5 separate regions of the Homo sapiens genome follow, and regions 1, 2, 3 and 4 are each linked to region 5. The links are contacts of gene promoters, found by promoter capture Hi-C in blood cells and fetal thymus (Javierre and others, 2016). All regions are on one chromosome and are shown on one strand. The core of a region is centred on a gene start or on the middle of the fragment in contact, and the rest is flanking DNA. Distances in the headings are between cores, read along the strand shown. Region 1 overlaps CALD1 (caldesmon 1). Region 2 overlaps LOC124901750 (a long non-coding RNA gene). Region 3 overlaps BPGM (bisphosphoglycerate mutase). Region 4 overlaps LOC124901750 (a long non-coding RNA gene). Region 5 holds the start of TMEM140 (transmembrane protein 140).

The links. The method cuts DNA at HindIII sites, captures the fragments that hold promoters and counts their contacts. A CHiCAGO score of 5 or more calls a contact.
Region 1: a fragment that was not itself captured here is called in contact with the fragment with the promoter of TMEM140 in region 5 in 1 of 17 cell types (naive CD4 T cells); the score reaches 6.4 in naive CD4 T cells.
Region 2: a fragment that was not itself captured here is called in contact with the fragment with the promoter of TMEM140 in region 5 in 2 of 17 cell types (non-activated CD4 T cells and total CD4 T cells); the score reaches 6.1 in non-activated CD4 T cells.
Region 3: a fragment that was not itself captured here is called in contact with the fragment with the promoter of TMEM140 in region 5 in 2 of 17 cell types (non-activated CD4 T cells and naive CD8 T cells); the score reaches 5.8 in non-activated CD4 T cells.
Region 4: a fragment that was not itself captured here is called in contact with the fragment with the promoter of TMEM140 in region 5 in 1 of 17 cell types (naive CD8 T cells); the score reaches 5.0 in naive CD8 T cells.

The regions. Positions count from the first base shown.
Region 1 is chr7:134,862,497-134,865,196 of GRCh38, forward strand. The region is part of intron 2 of CALD1 (caldesmon 1); the gene reads left to right. Among named protein-coding and RNA genes, the nearest start is that of CALD1, 84 kb to the left of the region's middle. The HindIII fragment of the contact is 8,480 bases long and covers 1-2,700 here.
Region 2 is chr7:134,718,704-134,721,403 of GRCh38, forward strand. All of the region lies in intron 1 of LOC124901750 (a long non-coding RNA gene), which reads right to left. It also overlaps a transcript of CALD1 not described here. Among named protein-coding and RNA genes, the nearest start is that of CALD1, 60 kb to the right of the region's middle. The HindIII fragment of the contact is 1,676 bases long and covers 530-2,205 here.
Region 3 is chr7:134,679,201-134,681,900 of GRCh38, forward strand. It overlaps BPGM (bisphosphoglycerate mutase), which reads left to right. Exons shown (of 3, transcript NM_001724.5): 3 at 1-616. The region is part of intron 1 of LOC124901750 (a long non-coding RNA gene); the gene reads right to left. Among named protein-coding and RNA genes, the nearest start is that of BPGM, 34 kb to the left of the region's middle. The HindIII fragment of the contact is 8,564 bases long and covers 1-2,700 here.
Region 4 is chr7:134,702,646-134,705,345 of GRCh38, forward strand. The region is part of intron 1 of LOC124901750 (a long non-coding RNA gene); the gene reads right to left. Among named protein-coding and RNA genes, the nearest start is that of BPGM, 57 kb to the left of the region's middle. RefSeq lists silencers at 252-546, 1,117-1,327. The HindIII fragment of the contact is 3,656 bases long and covers 1-2,700 here.
Region 5 is chr7:135,146,641-135,149,340 of GRCh38, forward strand. TMEM140 (transmembrane protein 140) reads left to right here and starts at 1,432. Exons shown (of 2, transcript NM_018295.5): 1 at 1,432-1,630. It also overlaps a transcript of CYREN not described here. RefSeq lists an enhancer at 1,211-1,710. The HindIII fragment of the contact is 6,449 bases long and covers 881-2,700 here.

The DNA.
Region 1 (2,700 bases), core at 132-2,631, 280 kb before region 5:
ATATGATATTCTGGAAAACTCAAAGCTGTAGAGACATAAAAACATCAGTGATTGCCAGGGTTTTGGAGTAAGGAGAGGGAAGGGATAAATGAGTGGAGCAGGTGGGGTTTTTAGGGCAGTGAAGCTATTCTGTATGATGCTACTATGGTGAATACATGACATTCGGTATTTGGTGAAACCTATGAAACTGTGCAACAAAGAGTGAACCTTAATGTAAACTATGAACTTTAGTTAATCATAATGCATGAATACTGGTTTGTCAATTGGAACAAATGTACCACACTACTGCAAGATGTTCCTAAGTTTCCTAGGGCTGCCATAACAAAGTACCACACACTAGTTGGTCTATAATAACAGTAATTTCTTGTCCCACTGTTACGGAGAGTTGAAGTTTGAAATGGAGGTGTCAGCATGGCCAGGCTCCCTCTGAAGGCACTGGGGAAGGGTTTGTCCCATTTCTCTTTCTCAGCTTTCTGGTGGCCTTAGGTCTTCCTTGTCTCCATTTTCTCATGGCATCTCACCATGTCTTCACATTATCTCCCCTCTGTGTTTGTCTGTCTCTGTGCCAAATTTCCCCTTTTCATAAGGACACCATCATATTGGATAAGGGACCACCCTAATCACCTCATCTTGACTACATCTGCAAAGACTCTATCTCCAAATGCAGGAGAAAATGTGGGCAGGAGTTGGGGAGGGGGGAATATATGGAAACTCTGTACTCTCTATTCGCTTTTTTTCTGCTCTAAGAAATAAGTCTATTCATTAAAAATGTTAAAGGCTTAAAAAACAGCCTGCCACATAGTACATATTCAATAAATGTTAGTTCCTTTTGGATGCTGCATTAACTTATTCAGTGCCCCTGACACAACAGATTTTATTCTTCTTGCATTCCAAGATCAATACTGGCACTGCCCAAAAAGTAGATAAGACTTAGCTTCTTCCACATGGCCTTGTCCCTAAGTGTTGAGTGCTGGGTTAGCCACCTGCTCACAAACATCTCCTGCCTTGACTGCATTTACACACGTGCTCATGCACAGGTGACACAGGTGAGCATACCCACACACACCTAAAATGGCTTATCTGCCACCAACACTGACCCAAACAAAAGCAGAAACTTACTAGTTCCCCTTATAAAGGCATCACAGGAAATATCTATAGTGAGGGCTACATGCCCATAGAGGGAAAAAGAAAAACAGCAAAAAAGAATATAAAACATAATACATTTCTTGGTTGAAAGATGCACATCAGCTATTGAACTAAATTTTTAAAGGAAACGAGCCATAAATTGATTTTAATAAATATAAATATACTTTCATTTCCGACACAGGGTGGGAGACAGAGAAGAAAAAAAAGTCACAAAGAAAGAGAAAATTTTTTTTAATGTCAGAAGAAATACCACTCAATATTCTGCCTTTGAAAAGAGGCAGAGAAAAAAAAGCAAGGAGGAAGGAAAGGAAAGAGAGGAAAGTCCCGGAAGCCCTGGCGTGGTGGTAAGATGCAGGACACGCCTCTCGTCACATCATGCCAATCCCCTGGGCCGCAGGCTCGTGGCTTTGTTCAAAAAGAAGGGCAGGCTGGGTGCGGTGGCTCATGCCTGTAATCCCAGCACTTTGGGAGGCCGAGGGGAGGATCACCTGAGGTCAGGAGTTAGAGACCAGCCTGGCCAACACGGTGAAACCCCGTCTCTACTAAAAATAAAAATTAGCCGGGTGTGGCGGTATACACCTGTAATCCCAGGTACTCAGGAGGCTGAAGCAGGAGAATTTCTCGAACCTGGGAGGCAAAGGCTGCAGTGAGCCGAGATCGCGCCATTGCACTCCAGCCTGGGTGACAAGAGTGAAACTCCATCTCAAAAAAAAAAAAAAGGAAGGGCAGTGTGTTTGGTGATTTGAAATCTTTTTTCTTTCCTTTTTTTTTTTTGAGATGGAGTCTCGCTCTGTCGCTCAGACTGGAGTGAAGCGGCTCAATCTCAGCTCACTGCAACCTCCACCTCACGAGTTCAAGTGATTCTCCTGCCTCAGCCTCCTGAGTAGCTAGGATTATAGGCACCTGCCATCACACCCAGCTAATTTTTTGTGTGTTTAGTAAAGATGGGGTTTCACCGTGTTGGCCAGGCTGGTCTCGAACTCCTGACCTCAAGTGATCCACCCACCTTGGCCTCCCAAAGTGCTGGGATTACAGGCATGAGCCACTGCATCTGGCCTGAAACCTTTAACACTGACTTATTTCTTAATCATGGCAGTTTAGGCATGCCCTGTTTTAAAAGAAAATCCTATCTATGAGAATCCATATTGAAAACACAGACATATCCATAGGTAATGACATCTGCCTCTGTTAAGGTTTTTGTTTTTCCCCTCTTTACAAAAGAAGTCACCTCAGTAAATTTTTCAATAGCATGACCACAGTCCCTCCTCCAGCACAAAAATTTAGATTTTCATAAAACTCTCCGAGAACGCATCATCTGTCACTAACATCAATACTTAGCTCTTTCACACTACTCTATTTGTGACACCCAGAGCCTCACGACTGATGGAATCACCCTGTCTTGACTTTTCATCCCTTCATTGGTTGAGAGTTTGTTTCCTAACCAATGTTGCTGAAAAGAATTCAGCACTGAGTAGGGGTAGGGCAGGAAATGAGGGATTACTGCCTGGGGACTGGGGACGTAGAAGAGAAAAAGAAAATCACTTACCATTCTAC
Region 2 (2,700 bases), core at 118-2,617, 430 kb before region 5:
ACGTTGGCTACTGCTGTTGTTGTGAATAATAAAATTCTTTGTCTCTGACCCAGAAGTCTCATGTCTTATACTGGTTGCTAGTTTTCAAGAAGGGTAAAATCTAAGACCCTTAGCAGTTCTTGACAACTGTTTCTGGAGTTTTTATTTCCCCAAAATATTGTCACTATTGCTTAGATGTCATACCTAGATGAATAACACTTGCCAAATAAATTTTTGAGTCAAGTTGAATGAAATAATTACCTTTTACTGGGAACCTATCAGTGGTTCTCACCCATGCTAGCCTCATGACTACTGTGTACACTATAGAGTATTATCTCCATTTTGCAAATGAAGAAACTGAGGTATAAGGACATTATTTTCCCCAATATCCTACAGCTCACAAATGTTAGAACTAAGGTCTGAAGCTAGTCCAATGTTCTTTCTGCCACTATTGCCTCTTAAAACATTTTAGCTACAGAAATATTAACTTTCAGACCAAATTATGAAGGTCACTGGGAACGGAAAAATGATTGTTTAAAGAGAAAATTTAAGCTTCAGAGAAGAAGGAAAGGGAGAAGTGAAGAATAAATAAGGAAGAAAAAAATAGAAAGAGGAGAGACAAAAAGGGATAAAAAAATATGTCCAAATAACTTTACAGGGCAAATAGAGGGCTGGGGTCCCTACAACAAGAGTTGGGAGCAGAACAGGGTTATGAGGCTCGCCAGAGGAACTTGGTGTAGACCTGTAAAAAGTAGCAGAGCACCCAGGGTGAAGCCTAGGAAGAGCCAAACAGCCAATCTAAATAAAGTACCAATCAGGCAAAGGGCTAGAGTCCAGGGAAATGGGGCAGTCATCATTGTCTCCTAGAAAGAGCAGGCAGAGAACAGCGTCCAGGGAAAGAAACCGGTAGTTTGCGAGGGGGGATAGGAGAGATTTCTCCAAGCACAGGAAGAGTGTAGCTGGGCCCATCAATGGCCATTGTCCGATATGTGTTTGTCCATTTTGTTTTGCTTGGACGTCAACGGCCTTGTGTGTGTGCAAAAAAGAGCTTTTAAGGACCCCAATCTGGTTTGGACAAGGTGACAGAAGCCAAAAGTTACCTTGGTTGAGTCTTAAGGGAATGAATTTTGAGAGTTACCTGTTCAAAAGCCAAAATGTTCAAATCCCGAAATGTTCACATCAATCACCAAAGATGCCCCCGAAATGTTCACATCAATCGCCAAAGATGCCCGCAGTGAGTGTTTGTTTTCTTGTTTGTATCTCTGTTTCAACTCAGTTGTACTTTGAGCTACACAGATCCTTCAAAAGAATAAAAGCTGGGTTTCTTAACCCCCGCTTTGGTTAGCGTGTATGCTTTCAGCACCTATGTTTAGTATTTTTTAGAATGTAGCCTTTGTAAACTTCACCCACTGTATTTTGCTGAAGTCAGACTCACCCTTTGTTCACCAGTAATCAGCAAACATTTGTTAGTGACGACAGTGGCACTCTGGTTAGCCCTCCTCTTTTTTTTTTTTTTTTTTTTCCTTGCAGAGCATAGTTGAAATAATTTGGGAAAGTTTCTCTTCTTCAAGGAGCTGGGAAAGAATGATGAATGGGCCCCTTGTTCTGATGCATCCTTCTATTTCCTGCAGAGGAAAAAACTGACGGCTGCTAATCTCTGTGTGTTCAGGAGCTCTACCTTCCTTCCTAATAAGATCGCTGTTGTAATAAGCATGTGCCATGGAGGTGAAGCAGAGTTTCCCATTATTTATTAGGCCTGAGTCCTCATTAGTAACTTCTTTATAAAATAAACATGAGGCTTTGCAGAAATGGGGAACAAGAGCCTACTTCATACAAAGTACAATGATAAATGTCTCCTGTGGCCCCAGATTCCAACGCTTAACATCTGTGATCTCCCCATCTCCATGGCAACATAAAGTAAATAGTAAAAATAGTCCAAATCCAGGAAAAACACAGCAGGGAATGTCTGTCCTAAAGGAAAACAAACGCTTAACATGCACTCATACATGAGCAAGAGGACCCACATGAAATGTAGCAGTTGGTCAATAGGAAAACAACAGAGAGTGGGGAATGAAGGGTCTTCAAGCTAGCAGACAAGAAATGTCAGATGATTTGAAGAAGTGTTGTCTGCTTTCAGTAGGAGGCCTGAAGGGAACATTGTGTCTTATATTCATGGGCTTGTACAGTGTGTATTTTACATTTTGTACAAATGTGTTTTGAATTATAAGCTTGTCATATTACACTAGATTTAAAGGGAACCATAGATTATAAAAGTAATAGCATCAAACAAAGAGTTGAGAACTGGTGATTTGGTGTTTGCCATGTAACTTCTTAGCAAAGCTGTGGTCTGCCTAACAGACCCTCTGAATCTTCTCCCTACCTGTAGCCCAACAGCCTGGGGCTGTTCCTGATATTCGCTATAGGCCGCTGGAACAGGAGGCTCTGTGGCCTCCCTGTGTCCCCCACAGTTGTGGCAAGAGCAGTGGAGCAGCCCTCTGGAAGAGAAGAATGTTCCCCTTAGGGGTGCAAGAAAATGCCTGGGAATAGGATATTTTCAAGAACGGCGATTTTCAGTTAATTTAATTTTCTGATTAACTGCAGTGACTTTGGGCCTTTCAACTCACTGAGCCTGGTTTAAGTCATCTGCAAAAAAAAAAAAAAAAAGGATGGGGTACTTCATGACCCTGGAGTCCTGCCAGCCTTGGAATTCTGCAATTCTAT
Region 3 (2,700 bases), core at 195-2,694, 470 kb before region 5:
CTCAGTGCTTATGTCATAGCCTTATGAGTTAGCTTTCTTGCTAGCCCCCTAGTCGGTCACCAAACTAGTAACTAGTGGGGCTTAATGAAGGTCATAAGTTTCTGAGATGGGAGAGCAACAAGTAGAGATGAAGTTAAAGGTATTTATCATTCAAGAAATCATTATTGAGTCACCATTGACAGGCACTATTCTAATCAGTAGTTCACTTTAATATTTAATAAGATTTTCTGGGATAACAGTAAGGGATATTAGATAATATACCGTATGTATTTATTACTAGTCTTTTCCTCTAGGAAAAGGGATACTTTGATAATTAAGGCCAGAGGCCCATTAGTTGAGAAAGTCACAGATATATTTCTCCAAGAAAGCCAACAACCACCACCACAATGACAGAAATGACAACAAGGCCCTTTAACTTGTCTTCTAGTTTAGAGACATCCTTCATTTGACATTTAGTAGAATTCCTCTTTGGCCACAAGAATAAGCAGCAAATAAACAACTATGGCTGTTGAGGTTCTCATTTTGGTTTGTTTTAATTTTTTGAACTTTGGGTACCTGTAATTAGTTTAAAAATAAAGTTCCTGATAATAAAGTGACTGAAAATGGCATCCCCAAAGTGTCTCCGTGTGTTTGGTGAATTTTAGGTAGGCTTCTAAACTAGTCTTTGACTCATACTTTCCTGTAACACTCAAAGAAAGAATTGCACTTATTTCAACACAACAGATACTCATGATTTTCTATATGTTGAAGCATGAAGCAGGGAAGGTAGAATACAGTGCATGTAACTTCATTCACATAAGCAGAGGGAATGGTATATTGGGGCTTGTGACATAAATTTGTTCATTAACTAACTGATGGCAAAAGATTATGGTATGTAGCACGGAGCAGTCAGGGTAGGCCATGGACACGATTGCATATCTGTCTTAATGATACTCTTTTGCACTATGTTTTAGATGCTGTGGGTACGTAAGTCATCATTTCTTTAAGCCGTTGACTCTGTTTCAAAGCAGGTCACATATATTTCGATGATAAAGTCATGTAAAACATTTGTAGCTATAATACCTGTTATAGATATTTTCCATTTTTTTCATGGTTTTTCATTGGATTAGTTTATTTTTATCCACTTTATAGTACAATTGGCATTTGAAGAATACTAACTTTAAAGTATTTTTGCTACTGCTTTGTCTCCATTTGATTATTAACGCAAGACTTTTAACGATTAGCCAAAGAAGATGGTTGAAAAGAAGAACCTGCTCTGCCTGCAGCTGGCCACATCTGTGATGCATAAGGACATGGAATGTGGATGCTTTACATTTATTAATTACCTACTATTGGTTTCTCTAGTGTAGCCCCTTCGTTTTAGTGGTGTTGATTAACCAAGTAATACTCTAGAATTCAAATATCAGGGTCAAGAATGCAACTACCAGATGATGTTCGTAGAATTCCAAACCTATGGCTAGGCTGCCATAGTGATATTCACACCATTTTTGAATATCATCATCTCTGGAACTGGCCTCTGAGTTTTCCAGCCCAAGGGGTGACCATGTCTTAATGTACTTCAAGATCCTAGAGTTGGATTCTTCCATTGTCCTGCATCAAGGTATCTTCTTCCAGGGAACCTTCTGGCAGCATGATGTGCTTCTGCACACAAAGCAACTGTCATATCCAGTCACTTTAGAATCTCACAGGCTTCCCAAGAAAAGGATGATTTTTGCTAATACAGTACTCTGTGATACAATTTGGTCTTACTGTTTTTGAGATCTTGGCTGAAAAAATATGAACAGAAGAGCCTTTTTTTTTTTTTTTTTGAGACGGAGTCTCACACTTTTGCTTAGGCTGGAGTGCAGTGGCACGACCTCGGCTCACTGCAAGCTCCACCTCCCGGGTTCATGCCATTCTCCTGCCTCAGCCTCCCGAGTAGCTGAGACTACAGGTGCCCGCCACCACACCTGGCTAATTTTTTGTATTTTTAGTAGAGATGGGGTTTCACCATGTTAGCCAGGATGGTCTCAATCTCCCAACCTCGTGATCCACCCCCCTCGGCCTCCCAAAGTGCTGGGATTACAGGCGTGAGCCACCGTGCCCGGCCAAGACATTTTTTTAAATGTCACTTAAAATTAGTTAACAACTCCAGCACTTCAACCTTAGGATCACCTAGTGAACCTGTTTTCTTTGCATTGTTAACAGTTTATCCAGAATTTCTGATGCAGGAATCTTGAAGGCTGCTTATTCTCTATCCCAGTCTTGGCATCCTTCTATTCTGAGGCTGGGACAGAAATTAGGGATTTATTTTCTCCTATAAAAAAAAAAGAGGGAATGACAATGACCAGCCCAGCCATGGTGGCCCCTGCCTGTAATCCCAGCACTCTGGGAGGCTGAGGCAGGAGGATTGCTCGAGCTGAGAAATTCGAGAGCAGCCTAGGCAACATAGCAAGACTTTGTCTCTACTGAAGAAAAAAAAGACAGCCTATCTAGGAATTAGGTCCTTGGAGGAGGCAGCCTATCCTGCTGCCAGTTTACGCTTTCCCTGGAGCCAGCTATGCATGTCTCCTCTGCCCAGGCTGAGATGATTGTCCCATGTGGGTCAGTGTGGCAAGATAAAGGCAATAGCAACATCAGCTGCTCCCAGAGTTTTAACTTTTAAAAAGCCTCTCAAACTAGTACCGTATCCCAGTACACTGAGAATGGTTTTTCTAAAAG
Region 4 (2,700 bases), core at 65-2,564, 440 kb before region 5:
TTTAATCCCCTTTGTGATATAGTCTGTGCTTACAAATGGTTAAGACAGTGTGTGGCTTTGCCTCTTTTTCTGCCCACATGCTGACAATTTTGTTGAACAAAATTACAAGAATAGCACAAGGATAACCTTTCCCCTGCCCTCTGCATGGGTCTTCCCGACATTGTTATGCTCGCCTGTCTTGTGCTATTAGATCAGCTTTCTTATTGCATCTATGCATTGTGGAACATTCTGGCTACAAGCCTGCGTGCTGGAGCCAGACTGCCTGGGTTCAAATCCCACCACTACCTCTGCTGGCTGTGACGTTTGGCAAGTTCCTTAACCTCTGTCTTCAGTTTTCTTGCCTGAACAGTAAGGAAGGGGATCAGATCCTCTCAAAGGTGCTGCTCAGCCCTGACATGATTGTGCTTTTATTTATTTAAAAAACATAAAAATGATGACTGTGCCTATTACAGGAAGGAATGGAACAGAAGGAGCAGGCAGTGGTGAGAGAAAGATGGATCAAAGAGCCTTTCCCTTCAGCTATAAACCAGCTTCTCTTGTTTCTCTTTGCCTTGCTTTTAAGGTATCTCTGACTACAGAGGAAGAAGAACACGGGAACTTTGAGTTGTTATTATTGAGGAAGACAGGATGATCAGGAATTTGACCAGGAAGCCCAGGTCACATCTAACATCAGTGAGGCAGTGACTGGTTAAAGGCTTGATGAGAACTGGCTGTCTGGCCCCAGGCTGCCAGGAATAGCGGGGGTCAATGACCTATAAAACCTTAGGCTGTATCAGCTTGGGTGGACTAAGTGATTACCATGTCTCCCTAGAAGCTAGTCTGGAAGCCATCCGCAGGGGAATTTGAACTAATGAACCAGGGCCACTGGGGATGGGACCCAGGAATCTGGATTTTAACCAGCATCTCAGCTGACTCTTAGGCTTCAGGTTTAGAACCACTGATGTGGTCCATTCTTCTCACCGACAAAACAAGGACCAGCTCTTTCTTTTTTCTCTGCTTCTTTTCAGACAGAAGGTGTTCGGGGTAGAGAAGCAGAGTTTGATCTCAGTGCTGCTTCTTCTTCTAAGCCACCGTGTTCAGAGAGCTAAGCATAAGGCAGAATGGAGGTGAGAAATCGCTCAGAAATTCTCAAAGCCCAGGCAAAGGGAGATTTGATTTCCTTTTGCATGCTTCCCCGAAGTATGTTAATTCTGGCGTAAACATGGTCTGAGGCATTACTAGGGTGAGGAGAAAGGCGTGCTGAGAAAGGAGGCCCTTACTCTCATAGGCCTTTCGTTGCAGGTCACAGGATGTCACTGATGGGTTGTTCTGAAAGCATTTGCCCCCTGCCACCCCCACCAAGCAGAGTCCTACCCGCTTACGAAAGCAGTTTCTTTGAGGTCAAAGGCTGAGAACAAACTGCAAATAAAAGCATCAGTCTCCTTTGCAGCTGACTCACTTAGGTCACCCCAGGGAGCAGCCAAACCACTGTATAAGGGAGGGACAGCTCAATTTGAGGCATGTATAAATTAGGAAATGTGTAGTACTAATGGATAATTAATAGGTTGTTTTATTTGCAGAGCCGATAGACAAATTTGGCATTCCGTGTGTTCAGACCTTTAAATATTTATAACCAAGAGCCTACAGGAGTACTGTTTCTGTAGAGACTTTTCTGATAGAGTATTGTGAATTTCAAAGTGCCCTTGGCTAAGCCTTTCTGCGATTTCATTCCACTTTTTTTTTTTTCTGCATATAATGGCTAAAGAAATTTTCCTGGGTCACCTTAGTAAACACTGTGTGGTAGTACTTTGAATGTTGTAGGGACCTGGGATACACCCACTACGCAGGGCTAACTACCAAGCAAAGAAGTCCCTTTGCTCATTAGAACAGATGGAAGGGCCAAACCTATCACAATTTAACTTTGAGAAACCACAGGACCTCATTGCCAATAGACTTTTTCTGAGGTGGGCCCTGGAGACCCCTCTGAAAAGTATTTCAGGAAATGTGAGAAGTTCGTGTCCTCTTAGAAAAACTTCAGCTACTCCTAGGGAGTCATAAGCAAACCCCAAATTCCAGAAAGGGGCTTCTTGGGGATTTTGAGACTTTGGGGAGTTTGAGAACTTGACCTTCCCAGAGTACCCTAGAGAGGGGTGAACTGATCAAGAACCATACACTCCATGGTACCACCTGCAAACCCTCTTCCTCACACCCAAAGGGAGTTCTTGGCCCTCACTGGGACTCCTTGCACCCCGGGGAAATGGGTCCAGGAGAGTTGAGCAACTCATCCAAAGTCCCACTACAGTGAGTGTCAGGGCTAGGGTTCAAGCTCACATCTGCCAAACCTCAAAGCCACACTGCAATATAATTATGAAAATAATACGATACTTTTGGTTACTGAGGCATGCTTCGCTGAACCTCAGATTCCTTACCTATCAAGCAGGGCTAATAACACCCACACGCAGAGTTAAGGTCAGTGTCAAATGAGATGATATGCTTATGTCGAGCACCCAACATTGTTTCTGGAACATAGAAGATGCATAACATAGGATTGCTATAATTTTTACTGTTGTTGGAGAGTGGAAACAAATCAGTGGGTTAAGGGAAGAGTGCACATTATTGTCTATAACCCAATAAAGAGAAAAATCAGTGATCTTTGGGAATTGAAAAGAAGTGTTACAAATTGTCACCCTATCCCACTCTGACTTAACAAATCTTTAGATC
Region 5 (2,700 bases), core at 182-2,681:
CTTCTGGAACATGCAGTGGGGAAGAAGAAAGCTAAATCTTCACCTTTTATGGTTGGGAGTCAGTAGATTATGCCTGAAACTGAAAAATCAAGAAGTACCAATCCAAGCATGTTATTTAGAGAACTGAGGTAAATGCCTAAAGAATGAGCACAGGTGAAAGTGCTTGCCTCTGAAGAGGAAGAAAGGGAGAGTGTGGGACTGCCGATTTTCGTAAGTTTTGAAAAACTGACTCTTTGAAAACTAGGTACATGATAACCTTGAATAAATTTCATAAATATAAATATGTTTCTATCTCTTCTATATCACTTCACTCACCAGTATTGAGTTTTCAGAGTAACTACTGTATATTAGTATCTAAAAGTTAATTTTCTGTCTTAAAGGCATTAATATGGATGCTAGACTAAATATACAGAAATTCCACTTTTCATAATAATAGCTACCATTACTATGGTCCCAGTATTGTACTAAGCACTTATATTATCTCCAGTCCCCAGAGCAACCATGCAAAGTAGGTACTGTTTCCATTTTACAGATAAGAAATTGATGCTCAAAGAGATTAAATAATTTGCTAGTATGTAGCAGAACTCTCTGATCTCAAAGCCTCTGTTCTTCCTTCCTCCTGGATCCCATCACCTCTTTCTAGAGTTTGCGTTTAAAAGAACTAGGGGCAGGGGGAGGGCAATGTAGCAGTTCAAATAACTCCTCCTTTGGAGGAAGGGCAAGGAAGCAGAAGAGAACCGCTGAAGGATTCAGCAATAGCACTAGGTAGCAGTCTCATGTAACCAAGTTTAACCCACAGTTGAAATTTCCAGTTGGTCATGTGAGCAACGGAAGCAATTTTTAAACTCTGGCCAGGAGCCCCAATGCTTACAAAAATAAAAGCTTTGTTCGGCTCTTATTTTGAAATAAAATAGATGTTCCAGCTGCTCCAACATGGGCCTAAACACTGCAGTGAGAATGCTCAGGACACAAAGTTTTGTGTCCAGAGAAGCCCAGTCATCATTACAAAATTGATCTCTAAAAGGGGTTGGGGGACAGACGGCATAGCTGCTTCCCAAGGAAATGAGTAGGAGGTGACCTGGGTCCTGACTGCCACACTGGCTGGGAGCTTGGACCAGATGATCCTGATGGGTTTCTTCTGAATAAAATTCCGGGTTGTGTTTATCTTGCAGTTTAAATCACTGGGAGCTTCGAGAGTTCTTTGGCTCCTTCCCTTTCTGGAATTATTGTGTGATATAATCAAGACATTTACCTGGCTCTTTAAATCAGTTGGTTTGCCGGCTACAGTGTAGGTAAAGAGTATGTCATAATGGACAATAAAAAGTTGTTTACATACCTCATTTCTGAAAAGTCATGGGCCACTGGCAAGTTAGGAAACGAAAGTGAAATCAGCTGATAGTGACATCAGTCAGAACAAATGTACCAAAGTTCAGAGAGCTGTTTACTAGGCACGACTGCGAAGGCAAGGGGGCACCAGCTCAGGACTGCATCTGCCTGCCATTTCCCTTCCACTCCTCCTTTCTGGAGTCTGACATTAGAAAGCCAGCGAGAAGGAAGATTCAAACAACCAACCCTGATTTCCTGCTTCTCCTTTTCATGAGTGTTCCTGTGGTCTCTGCACCTCCTTTCTGTAAGTACCGATCCTGCAAGCATCACAGCTTACCCAGACGTCTACTACCTTGTAAGACAATTTTGTTTTCTTCTCAGATATTTCATGTTCTGGCAATCCACATAGGGGAACTCACTGGTTGTTCAGTATCTGTGACCCTCCCTCGCTCATGTCTGTATAATCTACATAATCTACCCCCTTTACTCTCTGCTCTCCTTCCTTCCACTCTTCGGCATCAACATGTGTAGCTCTGGCCTCAAAGATGATGAAAGTAAGGCCAGTATAACTGGTTAGAAACGATGCAGGGCTGACTGCACACAGCAGAGTCTTGCACGCAGTGTGTACAAGGACATGGCTGTGGCTTGTGCAATACACTGTTCATCAGAAATAGGTAAACAAAAGCAGGTCACCGACCAACACTAACTAAACCACTATTCAATGGTAGTTACGAACACATCATAAAACTTTAAAATACACACTGAAGATTAATATCAACAGAAAAACTTGTGTTCTTGCCTCAAAGAATGGGACCTAAGAGATGTTTAGATCTTATGTTAGTCATTAGACCAGATTGCTCCTCATGCCCCAGTGGAAATCCATGGTGGTATTTTAGTTCTCTTGATGCATATTTTAAGAGATTTTTTTTAATGTGGGCTTAGTTTCACTAATAACTTCCACTATGCTTCTTCGCCTATAAAATCAAAGGCTCCTTTGAAAGAGGGAAAAGACACATATTTCCTTCTTCCCTCATGATAACTGAAGAGCATTTTTCAGTATCCACTTACCATACCCCATTCCCCAAAATCTCAGGTCTGAGACTCAGTCCATGAGATATTTTTTCAATCTTGCACATATTCCCCTTTCTCAACTTTCTTTCCAGCTTAGTCCCTGCTTTATCTAATTACTAAGGCTGTTTTGAATGCCTGTTTTATAAATTTCTTTTTTTTTCATAAATGTAGCACATAATTCTAAAAATATTTTACTGCAAATAGAGAACAATTGCCTGTAATGTCACCACCCAGAGCTACCACAGCTAACATTAACATTTTCAAATACTTCTTTAGTCTCTTTCTCCTATGCCTCTTTATATG